3 separate regions of the Homo sapiens genome follow, and all the other regions are linked to region 2. Evidence: promoter capture Hi-C in 16 types of primary human blood cells and fetal thymus (Javierre and others, 2016). All regions are on one chromosome and are shown on one strand. The core of a region is centred on a gene start or on the middle of the fragment in contact, and the rest is flanking DNA. Distances in the headings are between cores, read along the strand shown.

What was found. Contacts are between HindIII fragments. The CHiCAGO score rates a contact against its expected background, and 5 or more counts as called.
Region 1: a contact is called between the fragment with the promoter of WDR44 here and the fragment with the promoter of PGRMC1 in region 2, in 3 of 17 cell types (monocytes, naive CD4 T cells and activated CD4 T cells). The highest score is 8.8, in monocytes.
Region 3: a fragment that was not itself captured here is called in contact with the fragment with the promoter of PGRMC1 in region 2 in 1 of 17 cell types (fetal thymus); the score reaches 5.8 in fetal thymus.

The regions. Positions count from the first base shown.
Region 1 is chrX:118,344,285-118,348,015 of GRCh38, reverse strand. It overlaps WDR44 (WD repeat domain 44), which reads right to left and starts at 1,910. Exons shown (of 20, transcript NM_019045.5): 1 at 1,436-1,910. The coding sequence starts at 1,512. RefSeq lists enhancers at 1,235-1,778, 2,320-2,369, 2,560-2,679. The HindIII fragment of the contact is 5,332 bases long and covers 1-3,731 here.
Region 2 is chrX:119,234,795-119,238,704 of GRCh38, reverse strand. PGRMC1 (progesterone receptor membrane component 1) reads right to left here and starts at 2,420. Exons shown (of 3, transcript NM_006667.5): 1 at 2,014-2,420. The coding sequence starts at 2,341. It also overlaps the pseudogene NUDT19P6. RefSeq lists silencers at 1,808-1,957, 2,358-2,617, 2,648-2,697. The HindIII fragment of the contact is 8,490 bases long and covers 1,439-3,910 here.
Region 3 is chrX:119,867,833-119,871,718 of GRCh38, reverse strand. It overlaps RNF113A (ring finger protein 113A), which reads left to right. Exons shown (of 1, transcript NM_006978.3): 1 at 1-1,244. The coding sequence starts at 106. The coding sequence ends at 1,137. Among named protein-coding and RNA genes, the nearest start is that of RNF113A, 2.0 kb to the left of the region's middle. RefSeq lists an enhancer at 1-273. The HindIII fragment of the contact is 2,161 bases long and covers 1,266-3,426 here.

The DNA of each region.
Region 1 (3,731 bases), core at 661-3,160, 890 kb after region 2:
CAATCTGAATTGTCAGTTCATTACTTTGAAGGGAAAACCACACACACAAAAATTAAGTTTCACGGAAGTCCAATACATTTCAAAACCCAAATGTATTTCCTATGCTCTACACCTAGCTCTAAACTTGTCTCAGATATTGAACTTGAAGGAGATTCGGTGTCATCTCAAGATTGGCCACTGCCACCCCAAAATCCCACAACAGTGACATGAAGGTTGGTGGAAAGACAAACATCTGAAATCTACCAACGTACATTGCTTTCTGATTTTATTACTGTAACTTTTTGGTGCATATTGTGTATAAACATACATTAGTTTTTAGAATGACTTCTAGCATGCATGGCTAACTATACTTGCATCACAGCGGGTTATTACTCCCACGGAGTAAGTGTGAGAATTGAAGGCAGTGAACTTCTCGAACCATATTAGTCCTTTATACTAACATCTACATTTTACCAATCCTCAAGTTCTTACAGCATGAAAATATATTTCACTGCCTCTATTTCCACGTACATTCGTAGGGGAGTTCGGCGAAATCGCTTTAAAGCACTACCCCAACTTTGAAAAGTGGAGAAGTGGGTAAGTAAATACAAGTCCTAGTCAAGCGAGCATTCCAACTACTGTACTTCCTATTCAGAATCACCCATATTAATCACCACTAAAACATCTTGCAGAATTAGATAAAGAACACAAAGCTGGGGCTCTCCTTCCAATCACCAGATTACTCAGCACTTGTTTGTCCCTCTGCAGTCAGTTGTGCACATTTCTTCTGTCTGGCCATCCTTTTAGACCGCATTCTGCCTAATAGGGACCGTGTATTCGATTTCCTTTACCTCACGATAAGGTGTTATTTTAATAAAACACTGTTGATCTAGAGTACATTCGCTAGAGGACTTTCTTAAGCAAATACCCAACCTTCCCCCCGCTCCTTTTCGCTGTGTGCAAGAAAAAGAGGACGGCAAATAGGGGAGAGTTACAGCCACCTCTGAAGTGAATAGGTAAGTTAGCGGTAAACGGGAGAATAAAAAACTACAAGTTACATTTCTCCTGTTACTGCTCCTTTAATCTACGGTCCCCGAGGCCAAAACGGATGTTTGAAAGGTAAGCTCAGAACCCCACAGATACAAATCTCCGACTCAGGCACGTAAGCTGTTCCCCCTCACAGAAGGCTGGATCAGAAGAGAAACGGGCTCCGAGACCGACCCTGGGACCGTTCAGTAGGGAAACGGCCGGGAGGCTGCCCGAGGTGGCTGACTCCCCCTTCTCCGAGTCACCCCGCCCTAAGAAGCCCCAGGTCTGGGTTCTGAAGTCCTCCAGTGAGACGGGGAGGAACAGCGGTGGCGGACACAGCGGGACCTGGGAGGGGTGTAGGGGGAAGACACAGGAGATGCGGGGGGCTTGGGATGCCCGGCTTCCTGTCATAGCTGCAGTCACTTACCCCACGGGGTAGCCGCCCCCTAGGTGCACATCTTCAGGGGCATCATAGAATTCCTCGGTGTCGCTTTCCGACGCCATTTATAGGACACACCCGCGGGTGAGGGGGCCGGCGCCGCCTGGAGGAAGGGTGACTCTTGTCTCCTCCTCGTCGACCTCCACCCGGGCGAGACTGGGGAAGTGGGTCTCGGGCGAGGCTGAGGGAGCAGACGATCTGTAGCGAGGAGACTGTTAAGGAAAGGGGGCCGCCCTCAGTTGCCGGGCTTCGGGAATGACCGGCAAAGCGGCCGCCTGAAGAGGCGGCGGTTGGTCCAGGGAATGTTGCTGCCACCGCTCCCAGTGATAGGTGTATAAGGAGCGCGAAAGAGGCGGTGGCTCCTCGCAGTAAGGGAAGAAGGGCGCGCCGGCTACAGCGGCTCCAGTTTCTCCCGCAGCAGCAATTTACAGCAGCTGGAAGAGCTAGTTGCCCGCAAAATACCGACGCGCACCTACCCTCGCGAGATTTCGGAGGGGCGGTAATACGTGGGCGGGGCGAAGAGGTGGCGGGGGCGGTTCCAGAGAGGCAGCGCTCCGATTACTTCGGCCCGAGAAGCCTATCAAAACGGCGCAAGCGCGTTGAGGGCGTTCGGTGAGGGCCGGAAGTAGCCGAGAAGGGAGGGGGTGAGCCTCCCGAAGGGAGGAGTCTAGGACCTGCGCAGGAGCAGCGTGGTGCCCTGGCTCTGAGAGCGCGCGGCCGACGTAGGTGGGGTCAGGCAGAAAGTCTTACTCCCTAACTCTGCAGTTCCAAAGAGACGCGTTTTGAGAGGGGTGATTTTGAGTCGGTCTTTTACTTGTAAAGAAATACTCTCGGGAAACGTTGGTGTGGACATTTTGGCGTATATTTACGATGTCTTACTATCCAAGCCCGGAATGTCCCACCCTAGGGCGTCGGCAGGTCCACCACCTCTGGCGTTACGAGAATAACTCGCCCTTATTCACTACGAGATCTCTAATTGAGATCCCTAGATATGATCCTGCCGGCCAGAGGGTGGGGTCCTTGAGATATACACGGGGAGTGTGCCAGTTCCATGGTGTAATGATGGATTTATTGCTGGAGCTGAGCCAGTATTAGGCCTCCGGTTACTTTTTCTCCGCACATGTCTGTCGCTGCCAACACAGTGTGAGAGAAGTTCTTACATACTGCCCAAGATGTGCGTCAGCTAAATGGTAAATATTTATTGAGCAGATATCATTGCAAGCCTACGAGCTAATGGCTTAATTCTGATCCTCAACTGCCCAGCGTCCGGTGATAAAAATAGAAAGGTACTTTTTAAAAAACCGAGATGTTCCTTCTTAAACCACGGGTCATTGACCATCAAGGTGATAACATTGACTTTCAGTATGATCACACAGCATATTTATTTCTCCAACTGACATCATGATAGGCATTTTGAGCTGTTCGTGCAGCCTCAATTAGTATTCAAGAAAAGGCTGGATTGGAGCCAGGGGTATGGTCTCAGAGAAACTGGAAAGGGGCTCTAGACTTTGTCAAGCAATCAGGGCAAGGTCTGCTGTGGTCTAGTGGACTTGGGTAAAAACCAAATGTCATATACTGTATATTCTATAATACCCCAGGGAGTTTAGGGAAAACACTGCGTAATCAAATATATTAATATTTTTGCAGCAAGATATATGATTGTTCATACGGGATAAATAAATACAAGTAAATAGCCTCATTCAGTTTGAGTCAGACGCTTCTGCCAAATAAGTTTAAGATAGATCTATTTGACTGTCAAATAAATTACTAAAAAAAAAAAAAAACAGAAACTTGGTTTCCAGAGCTTTTGAAGTTTCAGAATTGGAGACAAGGGATTTGTGGATCCTTGTGAGGGTATGACTTTTGTCAAACCTAAAAATTATTAGGTTTTATGTGTCTTAAACATGTTAATTAACTTCCTAGGTATAAAAATGTAACTCAAAGTACTAACTTTTAAAAACGTTTTGCTCACTAAGATAGGTTTTTTTGTTTTCTTTTTGGATTATGGAAAGATACCAGATATAAGGTAGGGAAATATATATTTATGGAAAGATGTTAACTACCTGAATGTATTCTCTTCCTAGATATCTAATAGTGAATTTATGGCTTCCAAAGAAAAAAAAGTTAGTTTTCTCTATATGATAGAGGTGTTAGTTCCAGGCGCGGTGGCTCACGCCCGTAATCCCTGCACTTTGGGAGGCCGAGGCAGGCGGATTTCTTGAGCTCAAGAGTTTCAGACCAGCCTGGGCAACATGGTGAAACCCTGTCTCTACAAAAAATTCAA
Region 2 (3,910 bases), core at 1,171-3,670:
CTTTTCAGAGGGAAAACTAAGGCTCTGAGAGAACAATGCTTTGCACAAGGTCACACAGCTAGTCATGACCCAATCAGGACTAGAACGCAGGTTGCCTGACTCCCAGTTTTGTGCTCTGTGCACAGGCTGACATCCTCTCAATGACTCTGCAAACTACAGTCATGATGATGCCTCATGCACATGTTTTCACTCCTTTAATATTGAGCTCAATATTAACAGGTATTTACATGATTATGTTTATTGATAAAGCAACTATGTGTGCTACTCTAAGTGACAAATAATGTATGTGGTTTTCAAATGATTTTGACAGTTACATGCCTATAGAAAGCAGGTATTCTAAAATATCCACAGGCCCGGTGCAGTGGCTCATGCCTGTAATCCCAGCACTTTGGGAAATGGAGGTGGAAGGACTGCTTGCGCCCAGGAGTTCGAGACCAGCCTGGGCAACACAGGAGGGAGACCCTGTCTCTAAAAAATAAATAAAATTTATTTTTTATAATAAATAAATGTCTGCAAGAAAAAACTGAGCTCCTTAACCTTAACACATCTGATTTTGATCAGTTGGACTGGGAGACTAAAATGAATGCCTGAGTTTGTGTACTGCCTTCTGTACTCTTCCCTCTCTCAGGCCAGTGTGGAATGAGCACCGTCCATGTGGACATCCTCTAAGCTCCCTGTGTTTAGAGGAGTCCATATTGGAGGAGCCAAAACCTCTTCTTCCTCATCTCCAAGTATTCTATAAAGCAGGACTTTGCAAGCCTGGCTGCTTTTCAAATTCGCCTGGGAAGCATATTAAAATACAGACTCCCGGACCACCCGAGACTCATTTGCAGCTCTGGCGGTTAGACTGGGAATCTGTATTTTTCCTCAGATGCATCAGGTGATTCTGATACGCAACCAGGTTTGCAAAAACCTCGCCTCTAAGGAACCCATCAGGCCTGCCTTCTCCAACAGCTCAGCAGTGCAGCAGTCATCCATTCTTCATTTCCCTCTGGTTGGCTTTTCCTGATATCCCCCCACCCAGCAGTCTTCTTAGCTCTACTCCTTTTGTTTCTTGGTATCCTCCCACTTCTCCCTCCCTCCATTTTAATTTTTCTTGGCTTCTAATCCTTTCTCTCCTGCTATAGACTAAATACCATATTACCTTAAAAGCTTGCCACGTTACCATTGTCCACCATATTCAGCCTTTATTCCTCCCTCAAACAGCCCCCTTCCTCCTTGTTCACCTTCCAGCCTTTCCCCATCTGCCACACACAGCACAAGCGCACACAGACCAAACACATGCCACACACATACCTGACGCATGACCCATTTCAAGCGCGCATGCACACACCACACACACACACCCCTGATAAATCACATACACTAAACACGCACACACCGCGCATGCACACACCACGAGTGCACACACACATCACTATCCACCGGGCACAAAGCTTTTACCTGCTGCTAATCCCGTCTCGGCGTTTTCTCCCACACCCTCATATTTCAAACCTACTCCCGGTGTCATTGGCCTTCCCGTCTTCTCTAGGTCTGGACCTTTTCTCACTCTCGCCCTCCCCCATGCCTCCCTCGGAACACCCTCATTTCCTTCCTAGAACCCGACACTACCCCCTCCTCCTTCCAGGAATCCCCAAGCCCAGGACCTTCGAAAACTACCCCAACAGCCTGGGCTTTGATGTGTCCCCCCTCAACGCCTTCGAGCTTCGTGGTCCCACCCACCCCCGGCTTAAGCGCCTCAGCCTTCTTTCTCTAACCCCCTCCCAGCGCTGTCAGCGCGGGCCGGGGATCCGCGTCCCTGACTGGCCCGCAGCCCCTCTAGAGCGCCTCTTGTTCCCTGCCCGCCCCGGGAGCCTCCCGGCTCTCCGCCTGCCCGCCTACCCGCCTACCCTAGCTCGCCGCCATTCCTCCCTCCACTCAGGGGCGCCCCGCTCCCGCCTCGCCTCTCTCCCGCCCAGCCCCGTGCCGGGGCCCCCTTCTTTTGTCTCCAAGCCCCCCTCGCCGGCCGCGTACCGGGCCCGTAGAATTTGCGGCCTTTGGTCACATCGAACACCTTGCCGTTGATGGCCATGAGTATGCGCGGGTCCTGGACGCCGTCGAAGCGCCGCAGCTCGGCGGGGGTGAAGTCGCGCCGCTTGAGGCGGGGCAGAGGGGGCGGCTCGTCGTCGTCGCTGTCGCCGCTGGCCGCCGGCTGGTCCCCGCGCACGATCTTGTAGAGCAGGAAGATGCAGAGGCCAAGCAGCAGCAGGTTGAGCGGCGACGTGAAAATCTCATGCAGCAGCCCGCCGCTCTCCAGATCGCTTGGGTCGGCGCCAGTCGCCACCACATCCTCGGCAGCCATGATCTCTGGAGTAAAGGTTGGGCCGCGCTAGGCAGGGATCCGGAACTCGCCACTTTCTCCTCCCTCTGAGCGAGCGAGTGGCGCGCGGGGTTCGGCGGCGGCCAAAGACTAGCCGGGGAGGAGGCGGGGCCTGAGGGGCGGAGCCTCCAAGCCCCGCCTCCCCCGAGGCCACCTAAGCGCCCCGCCCTGCTCGGTCCCGCCCCGCAGCCCTCAGGCCCCCTCCAAAGCCTCTAGAGTCCGGCGCCGCTCCCCCGCGGCCGCGCGGTGCCCCCCTCAGTTCTACCTGGGAGGCCCCAGCCCAGCCTCACGCCATCCTCGCGCCATCCTATAGCTGAGCGCGACGCACGCGCTGCCCTCCTCTGAACCCCTTTTTTGCTCCTCGCAGACCGACCCGTTGGGAGGGCCTCGGCATTGCCGGGCTCTGTGCGAGCGCCCCTCCGCCACCTGATGCGCGCCAGACACCGACTCCCTTTCTGTTGCTGCAGGCTTTTCCCTGCCTCCCATTCTGAAGCCCCTCATCTTCCCCCTGCCGTTCCCGGGCCCTCCAAGCTGTCTTAGGAGACAGGAAACTCATTCTTCGAACTCCATTTTCTATGTTAGAGCCCTACACGACTCATTTTCACCTTGGGAACCCCCATTCGCTCTCCTTGATGGCCCTTCCCCAATTCTCCCCCAGATGCTGTGGGACCGACACCCCCGGGATTGCTAAAGTCAGTGCACAACTCTCCCTATTATCTGGGGAAACGAATCTGATCGCCCAGTTAACTTTGGGTTTGTTCTCCGAAAAACCCTTTTGCAATTACTGATTTGCTCAGTCACCAGGCATTAACAAGCAACGTTCTCTTGTTGCTCTTTTTTCCCCCCTCAGAATAATGTGAAAGTTTCTTTGTTTGGCAGCGTTCTTCTATTTGGAGTCTGTCAGGCTACCCTTGGCAGTCACAATAACCCTGAGCTGGAGCCCAGACAAAGGCGGGAGTTTGGAAGGATCCTAGGCCTGGTCCCTTCCTTTCCTAGGTATTTCATCCGGCCTTTGATGTGCTAACAGGCTGCACAGAAGCAGACCTCCACGGAGGAAGGGGTTGCCTCGTCCTAATCTGGCCCTTTTTCTGGTGGCGGGGGGAGGGGAGGAGAAGAAAGGATAGAGAGGGAAACAAATAATTAAAACCAAGCCGTGCACACATCTGCAGCCCAGAGCAGTACTTTTCCACCAAGTGTTCTGTTGGCTTGCACATAACTTACTCCTCCTCCCAACACGCAAGAGACTTGAGTAAAGATTGGCTTCCTACCTCAGAATTCTAAAAATTTCTGGCAAAAACTGCTTCCATCCCTGCCCCCCACATCTTCTTAAATCATTATAAAGTGCAATGAGCCAAACAATCTTTGTATCGGGCCCAGGCATTTTTCTCAGAGCTAAATTTGGGATTAGCTGAAACAGCCCCTCCAAATCTTTTGTCAAAACTCTTCAATTTAATCATGGAGAAACAGGCTCAAACTGAGGGCACTTGTCTATAGTTAGAATCTATCTCTTTTAACATGTATGGCCAAGAAAATTTAGAAAGCTAATAAACT
Region 3 (3,886 bases), core at 1,097-3,596, 630 kb before region 2:
GTGTCTTTTGCTTCGACTCCCGGCGGAGCGCGCAACGTGGAGTGACGTGCAGGGGCCAAGTGCAACCCAGGCAGCCACGGCTGTTTCGGAGCTCAGGACTCTAAAATGGCAGAGCAGCTTTCTCCAGGAAAGGCGGTGGATCAGGTGTGCACCTTCCTTTTCAAAAAGCCTGGGCGGAAAGGGGCTGCTGGACGCAGAAAGCGCCCGGCCTGCGACCCAGAGCCCGGAGAAAGCGGCAGCAGTAGCGACGAAGGCTGCACTGTGGTTCGACCGGAAAAGAAGCGGGTGACCCACAATCCAATGATACAGAAGACCCGTGACAGTGGTAAACAGAAGGCGGCTTACGGCGACTTGAGCAGCGAAGAGGAAGAGGAAAATGAGCCCGAGAGTCTCGGCGTGGTTTATAAATCCACCCGTTCGGCGAAACCCGTGGGACCAGAGGATATGGGAGCGACAGCTGTCTATGAGCTGGACACAGAGAAAGAGCGCGATGCACAAGCCATCTTTGAGCGCAGCCAGAAGATCCAGGAGGAGCTGAGGGGCAAGGAGGATGACAAGATCTATCGGGGAATCAACAATTATCAGAAATACATGAAGCCCAAGGATACGTCTATGGGCAATGCCTCTTCCGGGATGGTGAGGAAGGGCCCCATCCGAGCGCCCGAGCATCTACGTGCCACCGTGCGCTGGGATTACCAGCCCGACATCTGTAAGGACTACAAAGAGACTGGCTTCTGCGGCTTCGGAGACAGCTGCAAATTCCTCCATGACCGTTCAGATTACAAGCATGGGTGGCAGATCGAACGTGAGCTTGATGAGGGTCGCTATGGTGTCTATGAGGATGAAAACTATGAAGTGGGAAGCGATGATGAGGAAATACCATTCAAGTGTTTCATCTGTCGCCAGAGCTTCCAAAACCCAGTTGTCACCAAGTGCAGGCATTATTTCTGCGAGAGCTGTGCACTGCAGCATTTCCGCACCACCCCGCGCTGCTATGTCTGTGACCAGCAGACCAATGGCGTCTTCAATCCAGCGAAAGAATTGATTGCTAAACTAGAGAAGCATCGAGCTACAGGAGAGGGTGGTGCTTCCGACTTGCCAGAAGACCCCGATGAGGATGCAATTCCCATTACTTAGGTTTCCCATAATTCTTAAATTTAAAAAATAAACGTTTTGTTCTTTTGGAAGTCTTACTTCGTGTCCTTCCTTTGTAGAGAAAGTGACAGAGCAGGCGGGTGGTGAAGTAGGGTCCTGGATTAAAAGCTTCAAGGTAGGTATAATCAGGATTTTTAGCCCTAGGATAACCATTTTGCCTGTGTTTCTTTTCAGAACACTTTGGCATAAATTATAGGGGTGGGAGTAGTTTGAGAAAAGAGCTATAATTTGCTCGAAGTAACCAAAGCCATGATGAAAGCAAGACCTCTGAGCCTGTTTATTATATCACATTTCTGTATCACTTAATAGTTTACAAAGTACTTTCATGCATTCTTTCTCTTGGGAGCCTGTACTACAAAATATACCCGAGCCAAGGTGTTGGGGAGAGGGGTTGTGTTTGGGGAACTGGTAGCTAGCACCACAGGCTTCACATATGGGAAATGTTCCTTGCTGTCTTGGTTATTTATTTATTTATTTGTTTTTGAGACGGAGTCTCGCTCTCTTGCCCAGGCTAGAGTGCAGTGGCGCGATCTCAGCTCACTGCAACCTCCGCCTCCCCGGTTCAAGCGATTCCCCTGCCTCAGCCTCCCGCGTAGCTGAGACTACAGGCGCATGCCACCACACCCGGCTATTTTTTTTTTTTTTTTTTGTATTTTTAGTAGAGACGGGGTTTCACCATACTAGCCAGGATGGTCTCGATCGCCTGGCCTCGTGATCCACCTGCCTTGGCCTCCCAAAGTGCTGGGATTACAGGTGTGAGCCACCGAGCCCGGCTCCCTTGCTGTCTTGGAAGCAGCTATAGTTAACCCCCACGTCCATGGGTGATAAAAGTATCTGTGCTCAGCTATCCAGTGTGACAGACACTAGCCCCAGGTGGCTATTGAGCACTTGAAATGTGTCTGACCACTGTATTGGACATTACTATTGTAGACAGAACTCGTGAACCTGCAGAGGTCAAAAACAATATTTTATCATCCATTACCTGAAACTATCTGTGTTCTCACAGTCTCTGTAATAGTGCTGATCACACCTTATTAAAATTAGTCAATGTACCTGTCTCTCCAACTGGTTTATGAACTCAGTGACTAGCCTAGTGCTTGGCATATAATAAGCACTTAATAAATAAGCCTAGAGAGGTTTAAAAAGGGAGATTGGGGCCAAAGCCTTGAATCCAAGCTGAGGAGCGTTGACTGTATTCTGTAGGCAGCGGGGGAGATAGCAGAGGTTTGGGAAGAGAACACAATCAGACTTGGGTTTTTTTGTTTGTTTGTTTGTTTTAGTGTTACTGTGGTTGCGGCTATAGGATGGCTCACAAGGGAGATGGAACACGAGGCCGGGAGGCCAGTTAGGCCAAATGATTAGTAAATTTTTATTGATATGGCTAGAATTTGGGCTAATCCCACGAAACAGATGCAAGAATAAATTCTGGGTTAGTGGTTTTTATTCACATTCATTAATCCATTTAAAGATATTCTTTTTTTTTTTTTTTGAGACAGAGTCTTGCTCTGTTGTCTAGGCTGGAGTGCAGTGGCGCGATCTTGGCTCATTGCAACCTCCGCCTCCCAGGTTCAAGCAATTCTCCTGCCTCAGCCTCCCGAGTAGCTGGGACTACAGACGTGCACCACCACACCCAGCTAATTTCTGTATTTTTAGTAGAGACAGGGTTTCACCATATTGGTCAGGCTGGTCTTGAACTTCTGACCTCGTGATCCGCCCGCCTCGGCCTCCCAAAGTGCTGGGATTACATGCATGAGCCACTGCGCCTGGCCTAAAGATATTCTTTGAGTAGCTACTCTAAATCAGGCACTGTGCTTGGCATGGGGGATATTAGCAGTGAACAAGATGGACACAGCCCCTGCCCTCATGGAGCTGGACATTAAATAATGACTGTTTGTTTGTTTTTGAGACAGAGTCTCGCTGTGCCACCCAGGCTGGAATGCAGTGGCATAATCTCAGCTCACTGTAACCTCCACCTCCCAGGTTCAAGCAATTCTCCTGCCTCAGCCTCCTGAGCTGGTCTCGAACTCCTGACCTCATGTGATCCACCCGCCTGGGCTTCCTAAAGTGCTGAGATTACAGGCCACCGTGCCCTGCCTGTTTCGTTTCTTTTAATTTCAAATAGGATCTCCTATGTTGCCCAAGCCCATCTCAAACTCCTGGCTTCAAGCAATCCTCCCGCCTCAGCTTCCCAACATGCAGGGATTACAGGCGTAAGCCACCATACCTGGCCTAGGAAAGCATTTGGAAAAGTGTCATGTCCTACACAAAGCTTCGGACGAAAAGGAAATAAATGAAAAGTGTCACGGAGGCAAGGCGCAGTGGCTCACGCCTGTAATCTCAGCACATTTAGAGGCTGAGATGGGAGGATCACTTGAGGCCAGGAGTTGGAGACCAGCCTGGGCAACAGGGAGACCCCCGTCTCTACAAAAAACAAGCAAAAATTTTAGCTGGGTGTGGTGATGTGCACCTGTAGTCCCAGCTACTCAGGAGGCTGAGGTGGGAGAATCCCTTGAACCCAGAAGATCAAGGCTGCAGTGAGCCATGATTGCGCTACTACACTCCAACCTGGGTGACAGGAGTGAGACCCTGTCTCAAAAAAAAAAAAAAAGAGAGAAAAATATGGCAATGAGTAGCAAAAGAACCAGAAAAAATGTTCATTTTTTTAACTATTTCTGATAATTTATACTAAAAAAGTTATTCAGGGTTGGGCACAGTGGCTCATGCCTGTAAT